4 separate regions of the Homo sapiens genome follow, and regions 1, 2 and 3 are each linked to region 4. Evidence: promoter capture Hi-C in 16 types of primary human blood cells and fetal thymus (Javierre and others, 2016). All regions are on one chromosome and are shown on one strand. Each heading gives the region's core, a stretch centred on a gene start or on the middle of the fragment in contact. The rest is flanking DNA. Distances are from core to core; before and after follow the strand shown.

The links. The method cuts DNA at HindIII sites, captures the fragments that hold promoters and counts their contacts. A CHiCAGO score of 5 or more calls a contact.
Region 1: a contact is called between the fragment with the promoter of NFKB2 here and a fragment that was not itself captured in region 4, in 3 of 17 cell types (endothelial precursors, M1 macrophages and activated CD4 T cells). The highest score is 7.9, in endothelial precursors.
Region 2: a contact is called between the fragment with the promoter of CUEDC2 here and a fragment that was not itself captured in region 4, in 1 of 17 cell types (endothelial precursors). The highest score is 5.8, in endothelial precursors.
Region 3: the fragment with the promoter of SUFU here is called in contact with a fragment that was not itself captured in region 4 in 1 of 17 cell types (activated CD4 T cells); the score reaches 7.1 in activated CD4 T cells.

What each region holds. Positions count from the first base shown.
Region 1 is chr10:102,394,444-102,397,970 of GRCh38, forward strand. It overlaps NFKB2 (nuclear factor kappa B subunit 2), which reads left to right and starts at 1,262. Exons shown (of 23, transcript NM_001322934.2): 1 at 1,262-1,353; 2 at 1,445-1,537; 3 at 1,810-1,891; 4 at 2,006-2,046; 5 at 2,282-2,380; 6 at 2,461-2,612; 7 at 2,859-2,965; 8 at 3,084-3,242. The coding sequence starts at 1,517. RefSeq lists enhancers at 1-227, 1,278-1,327, 1,738-1,857, 3,329-3,527. The HindIII fragment of the contact is 5,152 bases long and covers 1-3,394 here.
Region 2 is chr10:102,431,307-102,434,403 of GRCh38, forward strand. It overlaps CUEDC2 (CUE domain containing 2), which reads right to left and starts at 1,268. Exons shown (of 9, transcript NM_024040.3): 1 at 1,220-1,268. RefSeq lists enhancers at 1,233-1,362, 1,533-1,702, 1,634-2,269, 2,270-2,903. The HindIII fragment of the contact is 11,516 bases long and covers 1-3,097 here.
Region 3 is chr10:102,502,067-102,505,263 of GRCh38, forward strand. It overlaps SUFU (SUFU negative regulator of hedgehog signaling), which reads left to right and starts at 1,906. Exons shown (of 12, transcript NM_016169.4): 1 at 1,906-2,268. The coding sequence starts at 2,087. ACTR1A (actin related protein 1A) reads right to left here and starts at 646. Exons shown (of 11, transcript NM_005736.4): 1 at 534-646. The coding sequence starts at 581. RefSeq lists enhancers at 525-624, 3,093-3,197 and silencers at 975-1,044, 1,722-2,191, 2,506-2,800. The HindIII fragment of the contact is 2,134 bases long and covers 728-2,861 here.
Region 4 is chr10:102,137,035-102,140,551 of GRCh38, forward strand. It overlaps PPRC1 (PPARG related coactivator 1), which reads left to right. Exons shown (of 14, transcript NM_015062.5): 2 at 816-1,004; 3 at 1,585-1,731; 4 at 1,845-1,946; 5 at 2,066-3,517. Among named protein-coding and RNA genes, the nearest start is that of PPRC1, 5.8 kb to the left of the region's middle. RefSeq lists an enhancer at 1,204-2,403. The HindIII fragment of the contact is 765 bases long and covers 1,371-2,135 here.

The DNA of each region.
Region 1 (3,527 bases), core at 12-2,511, 260 kb after region 4:
GCGAGGCGTGACGCACGGAAACGTCATGGGAATTCCCCCCTCCGGGGGGCCGAGAAGGGGCTTTCCCGGCCCTGAGCCCTGCTGGCAGGCGAGGTGTCGCGACCGGTCCCAGGTGGGTCGGGCGCGGAGAGAAGCCGCAACCAGAGCCGCCGCCACGGTGAGTGGCTGGATTCAGACCCCTGGGTGGCCGGGACAAGAGAAAAGAGGGAGGAGGGCCTTTAGCGGACAGCGCCTGGGGCTGGAGAGCAGCAGCTGCACACAGCCGGAAAGGGCGCGCAGGCGACGACACTCGGATCCACGTCGACACCGTTGTACAAAGATACGCGGACCCGTACGTACACCTGTACCTGTGCTGGCGCACACACGGCAGCGTCCGTGCAGTCGCACTCGCACACACATGCACACGGAGACGTGCCCACCGGTGCACTGGTGCCTGCACCCACACCCTTCACGCACAAACTCAAGATACGCTCACCCGTGTCCGTACATCAAGACAGGCGCTGACACACACCCACACTGAGAAGCTCGGGATTCACCTATCTACACACATGCTCGCTTGCACACTCATGTTGACGCCATGGACACACAACATGCAACCAAGCACTACAGCCGAAACACACTTGTGGAGCTGTGATGGAGACACACTCTTGTATTAGGTGGGGGGGGGGGGGGGGGAGCGTGCAGAGATCTCCCTGTCGCCTGCGCGCCCAGAACCGGTGCGGTGTGGGACCAGCTGCTGTTGTGAGGTTTGGGAGAGAGAGAAAAGAGCCCACTCCGAGGAGGAGACACTTTTCCCGCAGCCCCAGAATCGCGTTCTCGGGGCAGAACCCCGGGGCCTCCCACAGGAAAGAGCCCCCGCCTACAGGCTGTTCGAAGGGGAGGCCGTCCGACAGCAGGAATGTCCCCCCAAAAGCCCCCGGGGTTTATCAGCCGTGGCCTCCCTCCTGGCAGAAAATCCCAAGGTTGCTCCAGACCGGGGGAGGGGAGCGGGAGGCGGACTTGGCCCCAGACTGCCAGCCTCCTCCCGGCCGTGAAAGACCCTCCTGTTCCCTGCCCTGGAGGGAGGAGGGGGCTTAACCCCCACCGGGGCTTCCCGGATTCTCCTAGACCTCTGCCCGCTGAAAAGCAGCGGGAGCCCGTAGACTGTCGAGGGCCTCCCGCCCCTCCCGTCGCGAGGGCGGGGCCAGTGGCGTCATTTCCAGGCCCGCCCCCTCCGGCCCCGCCTCCCCTTGGTATTTTCGGGACTTTCCTAAGCTGCTCTAACTTTCCTGCCCCTTCCCCGGCCAAGCCCAACTCCGGATCTCGCTCTCCACCGGATCTCACCCGCCACACCCGGACAGGCGGCTGGAGGAGGTCGGACCCTCCCCCAAATCTGGGCCCCCATCTCCCGCCCACCCCCATTTAGATCTGACCCCCTCCCCCACGCCACTCCTCCCAACTTTAGGCGGGCGTCTAAAATTCTGGGAAGCAGAACCTGGCCGGAGCCACTAGACAGAGCCGGGCCTAGCCCAGAGACATGGAGAGTTGCTACAACCCAGTGAGTCATGCCGCCTGCCCCTGACCCGGCCGGCTGCCCCTCGTGTCTGTCCACCTGTCTGCCCGAGCCCCCTCTGCTGCCTTACACCTGTATGCTCGCAGATGCTCTCAGCCTGCCAGTCTGTCCATCTGTCTGCAACTCTGCCTCCAAAAGGAGCTTTCTCTTGGGTCTGAGGAGGAGGGGGGAGTGACCACTGAAGACTTGGAGATGGGAGGTGGGGCTGTGGGGGGTGCTGAGAGTCGGATGCCACCCCCAGTCTGTCTCCAAACCAGGGTCTGGATGGTATTATTGAATATGATGATTTCAAATTGAACTCCTCCATTGTGGAACCCAAGGAGCCAGCCCCAGAAACAGGTCAGCAAGTTCACTAACCTCCCCTAGTCCTAAAGCGGGGGAGGGAGAGCATGTGCCCTCTCTCTGGGGGAGGGGCTGGGAGATCGTGGCTCAGCAAGGTCTCTCTGTCCCCAGCTGATGGCCCCTACCTGGTGATCGTGGAACAGCCTAAGCAGGTGAGTGAGCAAAAGGGAGGGTGTGGAATGGCTTCAGCTTTGGGGACAAATGGGGTAGTGGTAGCTGGCTGGCCATGGAGGAGCCATTGCCGAAGGAGGCCACAGGGGATTGGATGGTCACTGCTGCTGATCAGAGTGCTGTAGTTTGGTTCAGGGCTACTACCAGGCACTGCGGTCACTGCTGGCCTGGGTGGTCTTCCCTGATCACAATGCTACTATGCCCTTGGACCTTCAGAGAGGCTTCCGATTTCGATATGGCTGTGAAGGCCCCTCCCATGGAGGACTGCCCGGTGCCTCCAGTGAGAAGGGCCGAAAGACCTATCCCACTGTCAAGGTGAGCCAGGATGGTGCTGGAGGGTGGGCTAAGTGGACAGCATGCCCAAGGCCCTGACTGACAGTCCCTGCCTCTCCTAGATCTGTAACTACGAGGGACCAGCCAAGATCGAGGTGGACCTGGTAACACACAGTGACCCACCTCGTGCTCATGCCCACAGTCTGGTGGGCAAGCAATGCTCGGAGCTGGGGATCTGCGCCGTTTCTGTGGGGCCCAAGGACATGACTGCCCAGTAGGTGCCCTCTACGCCTGGCCCCCACTGGTATGCCCGTCTGCCAGTCCCAGGCCCCAGCCCACCTCCATGAGCTTAGCATCTGACCAAGGGGAAAGATGTAGGTTGGCCCCAAACCCAAGGGCCTAAGTAGAAACTCCAATGGCTTCCTTGAGGAAGTAAGGCTGAGCTGAGCCCTGGCAATGGGAAAGGTGCCTCAGGAAGAAAGAACTGCATGGCCAAAGGCCTCCGATTCTCTCTTCTCAGATTTAACAACCTGGGTGTCCTGCATGTGACTAAGAAGAACATGATGGGGACTATGATACAAAAACTTCAGAGGCAGCGGCTCCGCTCTAGGCCCCAGGGCCTTACGGGTATGGGTGCAGGGGGTGGGTCGGGTATGGGTGCAGGGGGTGGGTGGGTCATGGGAGGTGCTCATGGAAGGAGCAGGGAGGGAGAAGCCCAGGGGTCACACATGTACCTACTGCCCAGAGGCCGAGCAGCGGGAGCTGGAGCAAGAGGCCAAAGAACTGAAGAAGGTGATGGATCTGAGTATAGTGCGGCTGCGCTTCTCTGCCTTCCTTAGAGCCAGTGATGGCTCCTTCTCCCTGCCCCTGAAGCCAGTCATCTCCCAGCCCATCCATGACAGCAGTGAGTATCCTGATTGCCTGGGGTGCCAGGCCTGGTGGCAGAGGTGGCATGAGGGGTGACCTCAAGCTGTGCAGTCAAACAGACCCAGGTTTCAGAACCTGGCCCTGCCACATATGAGCTGAGTGATCCTGAGCAAGTCATTTCCCCCCCGAAGCTTCTGTCTTTAGTAAATGTGTATATTGGGTGTTTCCTGCAGCTCCAGGGGTTGCTGAGATAAGGAATACAAAGCCCCCAGCTTCTTAAATGTGGCCTTGGCTATTGCATCATCTCAACTAATCCATATCC
Region 2 (3,097 bases), core at 18-2,517, 290 kb after region 4:
TTTATTTTGTATTTTTTAGTAGAGACGGGGTTTCACCATGTTGGCCAGACTGGTCTCGAACTCCTGACCTCAGGCAATCCACCCGCCTCGGTCTCCCAAAGTGCTGGGATTACAGGCATGAACCACCGCGCCCGGCCGTATTATCCACATTTTACCTGAAAGGAAATGAAGGCACTATGAGGTTAAGTAACTTGCCCAAGGTCACAAGGCAAGTTAATGGCAGATTTACACCCAGGCTGTCTGGATCCAGAACCCTCACTGTTAACCACCACACTACATCACCTCTCACGATGCAAATTGTGTGGCCCCATCCTATATTCTGAATCTCCTCTCCTGCCTGGCTGGCTATATTGTCTATTTCAGAATCTTTGCTCACACCACTCTCCCAGCCCAGAGCATCTGTCCCTCTGCCTCTCCAAATCTCATTCTGCAGGACTCCCTTTCTGCAGCCAACCCTAACTGCCCCACCTTCACTGCTCCCAGCTAGCCTGGGAGCTTCCCAAGGGCAGCACAGGCCTGGACCCTCCAGATGCTAGATAGAGACACTGTGGACAAATTTAAGTGAGAGTGGGGTAAGAAGTACTATGCTGCTCCCTTGGGGTGGGGAGGTGCTTAAAGTGGAGGGAGAGCAGGCCATGTGGGAGGAGGAATCCTGGGAGCTAGTGTGAAAGGAGTCCTAGCGAACTTCTCAGGGAGGCAGCAAGGGGTCTAGCATGGAAGGTCTTCACTGCTTCTCCCAGCCCCTGTGAAGCCCGGTTCCTGAGGCCCTGGACCCATAACGCAGGCCCCAGAGGATATCATTGTCCTCTGATACCCAAGTCAGACCTTAGAGGCACCAAGGGCATTGAGGGGAACAAGGGATCCCTGCATCCAAAGTCAGGCGGGAGCACAAACAGGGAGGGCGAGCACAGGAAGTGGGACCGCGATGATGGACGACCCCTGAAGCAGCAGCTCCCTAAACCCGCTAGCGGGACACCCGTAAGCGTCCAGAATAGTGGGCCCGAAGGCACAGGGATGCGGCTGTGGCCTTGGAGGACACATGACGAGGCAGGCCTGAGCAAACTGGATGTGCCTTGATACAGGCCACGGCGAGAATCAGAGATGGGGGTCCGACGGGCCCCGGGGGGGGTACCGTGGGGGAACACATCGGACGGGTACCCTGGGTCAGCGCTCTCCGCGACTCTCCTAGCCCTGGGCCGGGGGCAGGAGGGGAAATCACCTGCTCCGTCGGGCGCCGCCGGCGACTTGTCCCGCGCGGTGCAGCTCTCATCCCCCAGCCCCACCAACGAGATCAAAGGCGGGGCCCAGAGCGGTTCCCTTCCAGAGGCGCCGTGGCGGCCATGTTTGAGAAGGGCAAGTTGCCCACAACAGGGCGGAGCTCCTGCTCTAATTCTCTAACGTCCCAGGGCTATGGACGGGCTCCCTTGGCGGCCAGTTTTGTTGCGCGTAGGGAGGCGTTAGGCGTGAAGGTCTTGAGAGGGGGTGGAGTCGAAGTGGGTAGGACTGCATCCCCGTCTTGTTCCTTCTCATCCGTCAGAGACCCGAAACCTTTCTCTTTCTTTCTCTCTCTCTTTTTCTCGTCTCTCTCTCTCTCTCTCTCTCACTTTTTTTTCCTTTTCTTCTTCTTTTTTTTTTTTGGGAGGGAGCCTCGCACTGTCTCCCGGGCTGGAGTGCAGTGGCGCGATCTCGGCTCACTGCAACCTCCGCCTCCCGGGTTCAAGAGATTCTCCTGCCTCAGCCTCCCGAGTAGCTGGGATTACAGGCGCGCGCCACCACGCCCAGATAATTTATTGTATTTTTAGTAGAAACGGGGTTTCACCATGTTGGCCAGGCTGGTCTCAAACTCCTGACCTCGTGATTCGCCTGCCTCGGCCTCCCAAAGTGCTGGGATTACAGGCATGAGCCACCGCGCCTGGCCTCTTTTCTTTTCTTCTTTCTTTATTTTCCTTTCTTTCCCTCCCTCCCTTCCTTCCTTCTCTTTCTTTTTCTTCTTTTCTTGCTGTTACAGCCCCAGGCTGGAGTGCAGGTTCACGAGTGCGAACATGGCTCACTGCAGCCCCGACCTCCTGGGTTCAAGTGATCCTCCCATCTCAGCCTCTGGAGTAGCTGGAACCACAGGCGCGTGCCACCACGCCGAGCTAATTTTTTTTTTTTTTTTTTTTTTTGTAGAGACAGGGTTTTTGCCACGTGGCCCAGGCTGGTCTCTTAGGTACTGACTTCCCCACCCTGTCTGTACCTTTTGCATTCCCTTAACAGCAATGTCTCCCCTAGATTGGGGTGAGCTACAGGTCTGTGTCTCCGGAGGGTGGAGCCTGGGATTTTGGACGTGGTCTGGGAGAGGTGGAGTGGTAGCAGGTGCCAGGATGAGGATCCACCTGAGCCCTGTCATGGACAGCCTGTAGACCATGCCTACCCCCCGGGGCCTTCATCCCCCATGTTGGCAGGGCTGCTTGTCTAGGACAGGAGAGCTGAACTCCAGGGCCCAACAAGACTTCAACTTCCTCTTTTTGTTCCTGCTGCCACAGATTCCCGGTGCTGCCCTGTGGGGAAGCCCCACAGCCCTCCCCTCTTGGGAACCCTGAAATGGGTCACAAGGGGAAGAGTCCCCTTCAAGGATAAAATTTCCCATCCCCCATCAGCAGGGATGAGCCCTTTTTAGTGCTAGTTCCTTCGTGGGGTGCTGGGGACCCGGAAGCTGTCCCTGCCCTCAGGGAGCTCACAGTCCAAGAGAGAAGTCCCATCTTTCCTCTCTCCTAGGGACTAAGGCAGTGCCAAGATACTATGCTGCAGTGGCTCACACCTGTAATTCTAGCACTTTGCAAGGCTGAGGTGGGAGGATCGCTTGAGCCCAGGAATTTGAGACCAGCCTGGGCAACATGGCAAAACCTCGTCTCTACAAAAAATTTAAAAAATAAAAAATTATCTGGGCATGGTGACACACGCCAGTAGTCCCAGCTACTCCAGAGACTGAGGTGGGAGGATCATTTGAGCCCCAGAGGTCAAGGCTGCAGTAAGCCGTGATTGTGCTACTGCACTCCAGCCTGAGTGACAAAGCAAGACCCTGTCTCAAAAAAAAAAAAAAAAAAAAAAAAGAAGA
Region 3 (3,197 bases), core at 656-3,155, 370 kb after region 4:
GGCGGGCACTCGCCTCTAGGCCCCACCACCCAGAGTCCCGGAAGCCAATCCCCACAGCCCTGGAGCACTGCCCCGCCCCTTCAAGAGGGAAAACAATATGGCGGCAAGGAAGAATGGCAGGGGCGTGAGCCAATCACCGCAGAGGCCTAGCCTCATCCGGCAAGGCTAAGAGGCGGTATCATTGGCTAAGATGGACAGCCAGAGCAACCAATAGAGCGATCGGAAATGGGGGAGAGGGCGGGCGACGGGAATCTCACACAGCGGTTAAGGCCCCTAGAGCCAAGGGCCCAAGGACTGGCTTGGACTATAACTCTTTCCTTTATCCACTCCAGAGTTCTCCATCCCACTTTTGCTGGCTGGCCGCCTTGCCTGCGGACTATGTGATAAGGGGAGGAAGGAGGCGGCGGTGGCTGAACGCGCCTGACAGGCCGGGCCAGTGACAAAGAGCCGGCGGCTCAGGCTGAACCCCGGGAAGCGATCCTTTCGAGGAGGAGAGCCCAAGTCCCCTTATAGATAGGAAAGACGCAACTCACGTTGTCGATCACGACAGGCTGGTTGGCGATCACATCGTAGGACTCCATGGCAGAGGAATCTCTCCTTCTGGGGAAGGAACTGCCCAGCCGGGTCCGCCGCTAGCGCCACTGACACGCATGCGCAGTCTAGCCGCCGGTTCAGGGCGGCGAGGGAGCGGCCCGACCTCGCCTCTGAAGAACTACAATCCCCAGCAAGCTTTGCGCCTGGGTTAGCGATCTAGCTTGCTTTGTTGCCCGCCTAGTTTAAGATTGGGAGTCGCATTTCCAATGCGCAGTACCCTGGGATTTGTGGTCTCCCTAGATTAAACAGCCAGAGACACAGGTTGATGGTCATGTTGCATGCCTGGATCTGTAGTCCCTTTGAAGGAGTTCGCAGTGCATGCTGAGGTATGTAGTCTTCTCGAGTACTTGTCTGTAGTTCGGTTTGGATTGGTCGTAATTCATGGATGTTTGGATTTTGCAGATCAGCCCTGCCACTCCCCCCGACGTTCCCTTAGACAATATAAGGTTCTCATGTTTTTATTTGGGTCTGTAAGACTTTAATAAACATCTCCTAGCACCTCACACTCTAACAAAAAGGAAATGTTAACACACGTACGCGAGAGGACATATTCCTACAACAAAGGAAAACAATTTAAATTGCATAAAATTAGCTTTAAGTTTAAAAACCTGTACATTGTCGTTGCCTTTTGCATTTTCTTTTTTTCTGCATAACAGGCTAACATTGATCCGAAGATTGGCAATTGGAACTACTGGTATAGGTAATCTTTTGGTCATTAAAACATCATCTAAGGGTTTCAGAAACTGCTCGAGTATCTCTTTAATTTTCATAACGAGCTAGAATTGACACTGATGGTTGAGAAAATGGAGGTGAAGAGAGGTTATGTGTCACTGCTTTCAAATGAGCCCAGTGCATTTTTTTCTCTGGATTATGTTCTCCCCCAGCCCCCTTGAAATTTCAGGGACCTTTTTGTCAATAGCCCTAGAAAACATTAGATTTATTATCATCTATTAATACTAACGCCCCATGGATGAATGAATCAATCCATTGTCAGATTTATGTTTAAATCCTAGTTAGCAGCGCGTCAGCAAAACAGTAACAAATCCTTTGTTGGCGCACTTCTCGCTGCTTTCGTGGGACCTTAGCACCTCAGAGGGTGCTCAGCATCTCTAAACTTGGGTTCCTCCTAACACTAGGGGGAGACCAAGAGCCTTGGGACACTCCCAACACAGGGAGGGGAGGCGGGGCCTATTGTCAAGTCACACCTTCCCTGCCTGTGACTGGCACAGACATTAGCCAATGGGTGCTTGGATAGGGTGCGCCGGCGCCCCGCCCCCCTTAGCGCCCCGCCGCCCCGAGGCACCCTCTGGCAGACTCGGCGGCGGCGACAGCCTGGGCGGACAGTGCGCCGTGCGCAGGCGCGGAGCTAGACCTCGCTGCAGCCCCCATCGCCTCGGGGAGTCTCACCCACCGAGTCCGCCCGCTGGCCCGTCAGTGCTCTCCCCGTCGTTTGCCCTCTCCAGTTCCCCCAGTGCCTGCCCTACGCACCCCGATGGCGGAGCTGCGGCCTAGCGGCGCCCCCGGCCCCACCGCGCCCCCGGCCCCTGGCCCGACTGCCCCCCCGGCCTTCGCTTCGCTCTTTCCCCCGGGACTGCACGCCATCTACGGAGAGTGCCGCCGCCTTTACCCTGACCAGCCGAACCCGCTCCAGGTTACCGCTATCGTCAAGTACTGGTATGCTCTGGGCCGCGGGGAGACGGACAGGCGCGGGCTGGAAAGGGTTAAAGCGCCGAGGGCGAAGTAATTTGTGGGAGGTGGGAGGAGGGGTAGAGAATGGTTAAAGCACTCAGAAGGAGGGCTTCTTGCTGCGAGGGAAGGAGTTAAGGCTCAAGTTGGGAATGGGGACAAAGGGGTTAACGGAGCCCGTGGGTACTGAGGGGTTAACCGGGATTAGGAGAATAGAGTGAGGACTGGGGGTGTGTGTAGGAGCAGAGGGGGGAACGGCAGGAGCGAGGGAACTGTAAACGTGGTGAAAAGAGGGGGCGCCTGTAGGGGGTCATTAGTGGGCGAGGGGAAGCCAAGCGGGGGCGGCCGAAGTGGGATGGGAGAGGCGAGGCGGGGCCTGGGGAGCATTTGAGAGGGCTTTGGAGGAGCGAAGCCGAAGAAGCTCAGAGGGCACGAGACTGCATAGAATGGGGGGTTCGGGGGGCCCAGGGCTCTCCTGTGGTGGGTAGGAGGGCCAAAGATGAGGGCCTGGTGCTTGTGGAGAGAGGAGGAGGTCTCCTTTTGATACCTTCCCGATTAGCTCAGACGTCGTATCAGGGCAAAGCTTTTGCTTTTGAAGTTTGACGGAGCAGCTCTTCCTGATAAACTTTTTGCTTACTCTGCACTGTTCTCTTTCTCCGTGCAGAGCTTCCTCCTAGCTCTGCAGTTGCTTCGCTTTAGGGCATTAGGTAGAGAGAACCATGGTTTGGCTTAGGATTGAAGGGGCCGACAGCTTCCCACCTCCAGTTGGAAATAAATGGTGGAGACTCTGGGACCCCAGCAGGGAGGAATTGTGCAGTGGGACATTAAGAGGAGCTTCTCGGCCATGGCCTGCAGTTTCTCCGGGGAGCTGAGAGTAACCCTCAAGTAGCTTTAGGGTAGGAATGGTCTTTTCTAAT
Region 4 (3,517 bases), core at 503-3,002:
TTGGGCCTTCAAAATAAGTGTCGGCCGGGCGTGGCGGCTCACGCCTGTAATCACAGCACTTTCAGAGGCTGAGTCGGGCGGATTACTTGAGATTTGGAGTTTGAGACCAGCCTGGCCAATAAGGTGAAACCCTGTCTCTACTAAAAATACAAAAATTAGCTGGGCGTGGTGGTGGGCGCCTATAATCCCAGCTGCTCCGGAGGCTGAGGCAGGAGAATCGCTTGAACCCAGGAGACCGAACCCATGAGTGTCATGGGGATGGGGGTAGGGGGTGGGGTGTGATTACCAGAAAAGTTAATGCTGCAGAAAAGTCTGTGATTTTAGAGTTGTGAGGAGAGATCACCGTGGGCTGGGGAAGCTGGGGTGTCTTCTTGAAGAAGGTAGGATTTGCACTAAGCAGAGAACTAAATGGGATTTGAGGTAGGTGAGGTTGTTGGAGCTGAAGCTGTCTCCTTGCTGACCTCTTTTGCTTTGGTGTGCCCCTCAGACTGTTATCTTCACTGCTGCCAGTAGATGATTCTGAACAATCTTGATTTTCCTGATGTTTTTACTCCCGGGTTTTAATCTGTGACTCTAGCTGTTTCTGGTTGGAGCCCAAACATTTTTCTGCCCCAGAAGGTCCCTGAAAACTGCCATCCTTATTGGGGTTTTTGCTCATAGGTTGTGCTTCTCTCTGCTCTGCTAGCCCAGAAGTTTGGCGACAGTGTTGCTGCTGCTGAGTTTGGCCCCAGCAGTGGAGGGTACCTGATTTATGGAGCATATTATCAGCTGCTGCCAGAGAGCTCATACCCTTCTCACCTTCTTCTCTGCTCCAGGTGCTGCTGCATGAGGAGGCGGGTGATTCTGGCTTTGTCAGTCTCTCTCGGCTGGGCCCATCTCTGAGGGACAAGGACCTGGAAATGGAGGAGCTAATGCTGCAGGATGAGACACTGCTGGGGACCATGCAGAGCTACATGGATGCCTCCCTTATCTCCCTCATTGAGGATTTTGGGAGCCTTGGAGAGGTGAGCTGGGGCTGGACTCTGAAATCTTCAAGCAGGAGGTTTACATGGGAGGTTCTAGCTCAAATTCTTGGCATGGCTCTGCTCTCCCAGGACCTTAGCTTCTTCCTGGGTGCCCAACCTGAATCCTTGAAGTGTATTTTTTGTCTCTAAGTGGGAATTAGGCTGCAGGCTGCCAGATTATGTCCCATGTAAGAATTCCTTTCCTAGCTTAGACTATAGTCCAAGGCCTTTCCCACTGTCTGGGCCCCTGAACTACATGTCCAGAGGATTCTGATCTCTGTTTTTCAGCTCATTTCTAGCCTAGCCGATGGTTGTCTGCTGAGCATCCCACATCTTATCTGAGGGTAGGGGAATGTGTGAAACCCAAGCTTGAGTCAAGTCTGACAGGTCTCTGTTGACACCAAGAGCTGGTGGATGGTAGCTGAGATTGGAATCCATGCCTTCTGGTATTCAGATCCTTCTCGCTGCCCCATTAGCTGAGTTGAACCTGGGAGACTGATTCTCTCGATATCCAGTCCTTAGTGGCATAGTAGGTCATTAGGGATGTTGGTAGGACCTTCTGGTTGTTTTTCTGGAGCAGAGCAGGTTATCTCTGGAGGACCAGAATGAAGTGTCGCTGCTCACGGCTCTGACGGAGATCTTGGACAATGCAGATTCTGAGAACCTTTCTCCATTTGACAGCATTCCTGATTCGGAGCTGCTTGTGTCACCCCGGGAGGGCTCCTCTGTGAGTGTGGGACCAGGGGAAGGGGATTAGTACAAAGTTTAGACCCATGCCTGTGGACCTACTCATATAGCTCTGAAGCATAGACTGATCTCAGGTCTTTCTTTCCCTCTTAGCTGCACAAGCTGCTTACTCTCTCTCGGACACCCCCAGAACGTGACCTCATCACCCCAGTTGACCCACTGGGGCCCAGTACAGGCAGCAGTAGAGGGAGTGGGGTAAGCCTGACCTAGAGGGTTTCAGAAACTCCCAGGTGGGAGGAGGAGTGTGTGGGGACAGGTCTGGAAAATACTTTCCCAAAGAAAACTCCTCCTGAGACCTCTCTTCTCTCCTGCAGGTTGAAATGTCTCTTCCAGATCCCTCTTGGGACTTCTCCCCACCCTCTTTCTTAGAGACCTCTTCCCCCAAGCTTCCTAGCTGGAGACCCCCAAGATCAAGACCACGCTGGGGCCAATCCCCACCTCCCCAGCAGCGCAGTGATGGAGAAGAAGAGGAGGAGGTGGCCAGCTTCAGTGGCCAGATTCTTGCCGGGGAGCTTGACAACTGTGTGAGCAGTATCCCGGACTTCCCCATGCATTTGGCCTGCCCTGAGGAGGAAGATAAAGCAACAGCAGCAGAGATGGCAGTGCCAGCAGCTGGTGATGAGAGCATCTCCTCCCTGAGTGAGCTGGTGCGGGCCATGCACCCATACTGCCTGCCCAACCTCACCCACCTGGCATCACTTGAGGATGAGCTTCAGGAGCAGCCAGATGATTTGACACTGCCTGAGGGCTGCGTAGTGCTGGAGATTGTGGGGCAGGCAGCCACAGCTGGCGATGACCTGGAGATCCCAGTTGTGGTGCGACAGGTCTCTCCTGGACCCCGGCCTGTGCTCCTGGATGACTCGCTAGAGACTAGTTCTGCCTTGCAGCTGCTTATGCCTACACTGGAGTCAGAGACAGAGGCTGCTGTGCCCAAGGTAACCCTCTGCTCTGAGAAAGAGGGGTTGTCATTGAACTCAGAGGAGAAGCTGGACTCAGCCTGCTTATTGAAGCCCAGGGAGGTCGTGGAGCCGGTGGTGCCCAAGGAGCCTCAGAACCCACCTGCCAATGCAGCACCAGGTTCCCAGAGAGCTCGAAAGGGCAGGAAGAAGAAGAGCAAGGAGCAGCCAGCAGCCTGTGTGGAAGGCTATGCCAGGAGGCTGAGGTCATCTTCTCGCGGGCAGTCTACTGTAGGTACAGAAGTGACCTCTCAGGTAGACAACTTGCAGAAACAGCCTCAGGAAGAACTTCAAAAAGAGTCTGGGCCTCTCCAGGGTAAGGGGAAGCCCCGGGCTTGGGCTCGGGCCTGGGCAGCTGCCTTGGAGAATTCTAGCCCTAAGAACTTGGAGAGAAGTGCTGGACAAAGTAGTCCTGCTAAAGAAGGCCCTCTAGACCTCTACCCAAAGCTGGCTGACACTATCCAAACCAATCCTATACCAACCCATCTCTCATTGGTCGACTCTGCCCAAGCCAGCCCCATGCCAGTTGACTCTGTTGAAGCTGATCCCACTGCAGTTGGCCCTGTTCTAGCTGGCCCTGTACCTGTTGACCCTGGGTTGGTTGACCTTGCTTCAACCAGCTCAGAACTGGTTGAGCCTCTCCCGGCTGAGCCAGTGCTGATCAACCCAGTCCTGGCTGACTCAGCAGCAGTTGACCCTGCAGTGGTTCCCATCTCAGATAACTTGCCACCAGTTGATGCTGTCCCGTCTGGCCCAGCACCAGTTGATCTAGCACTGGTTGACCCTGTTCCTAATGACCTGACTCCAGTT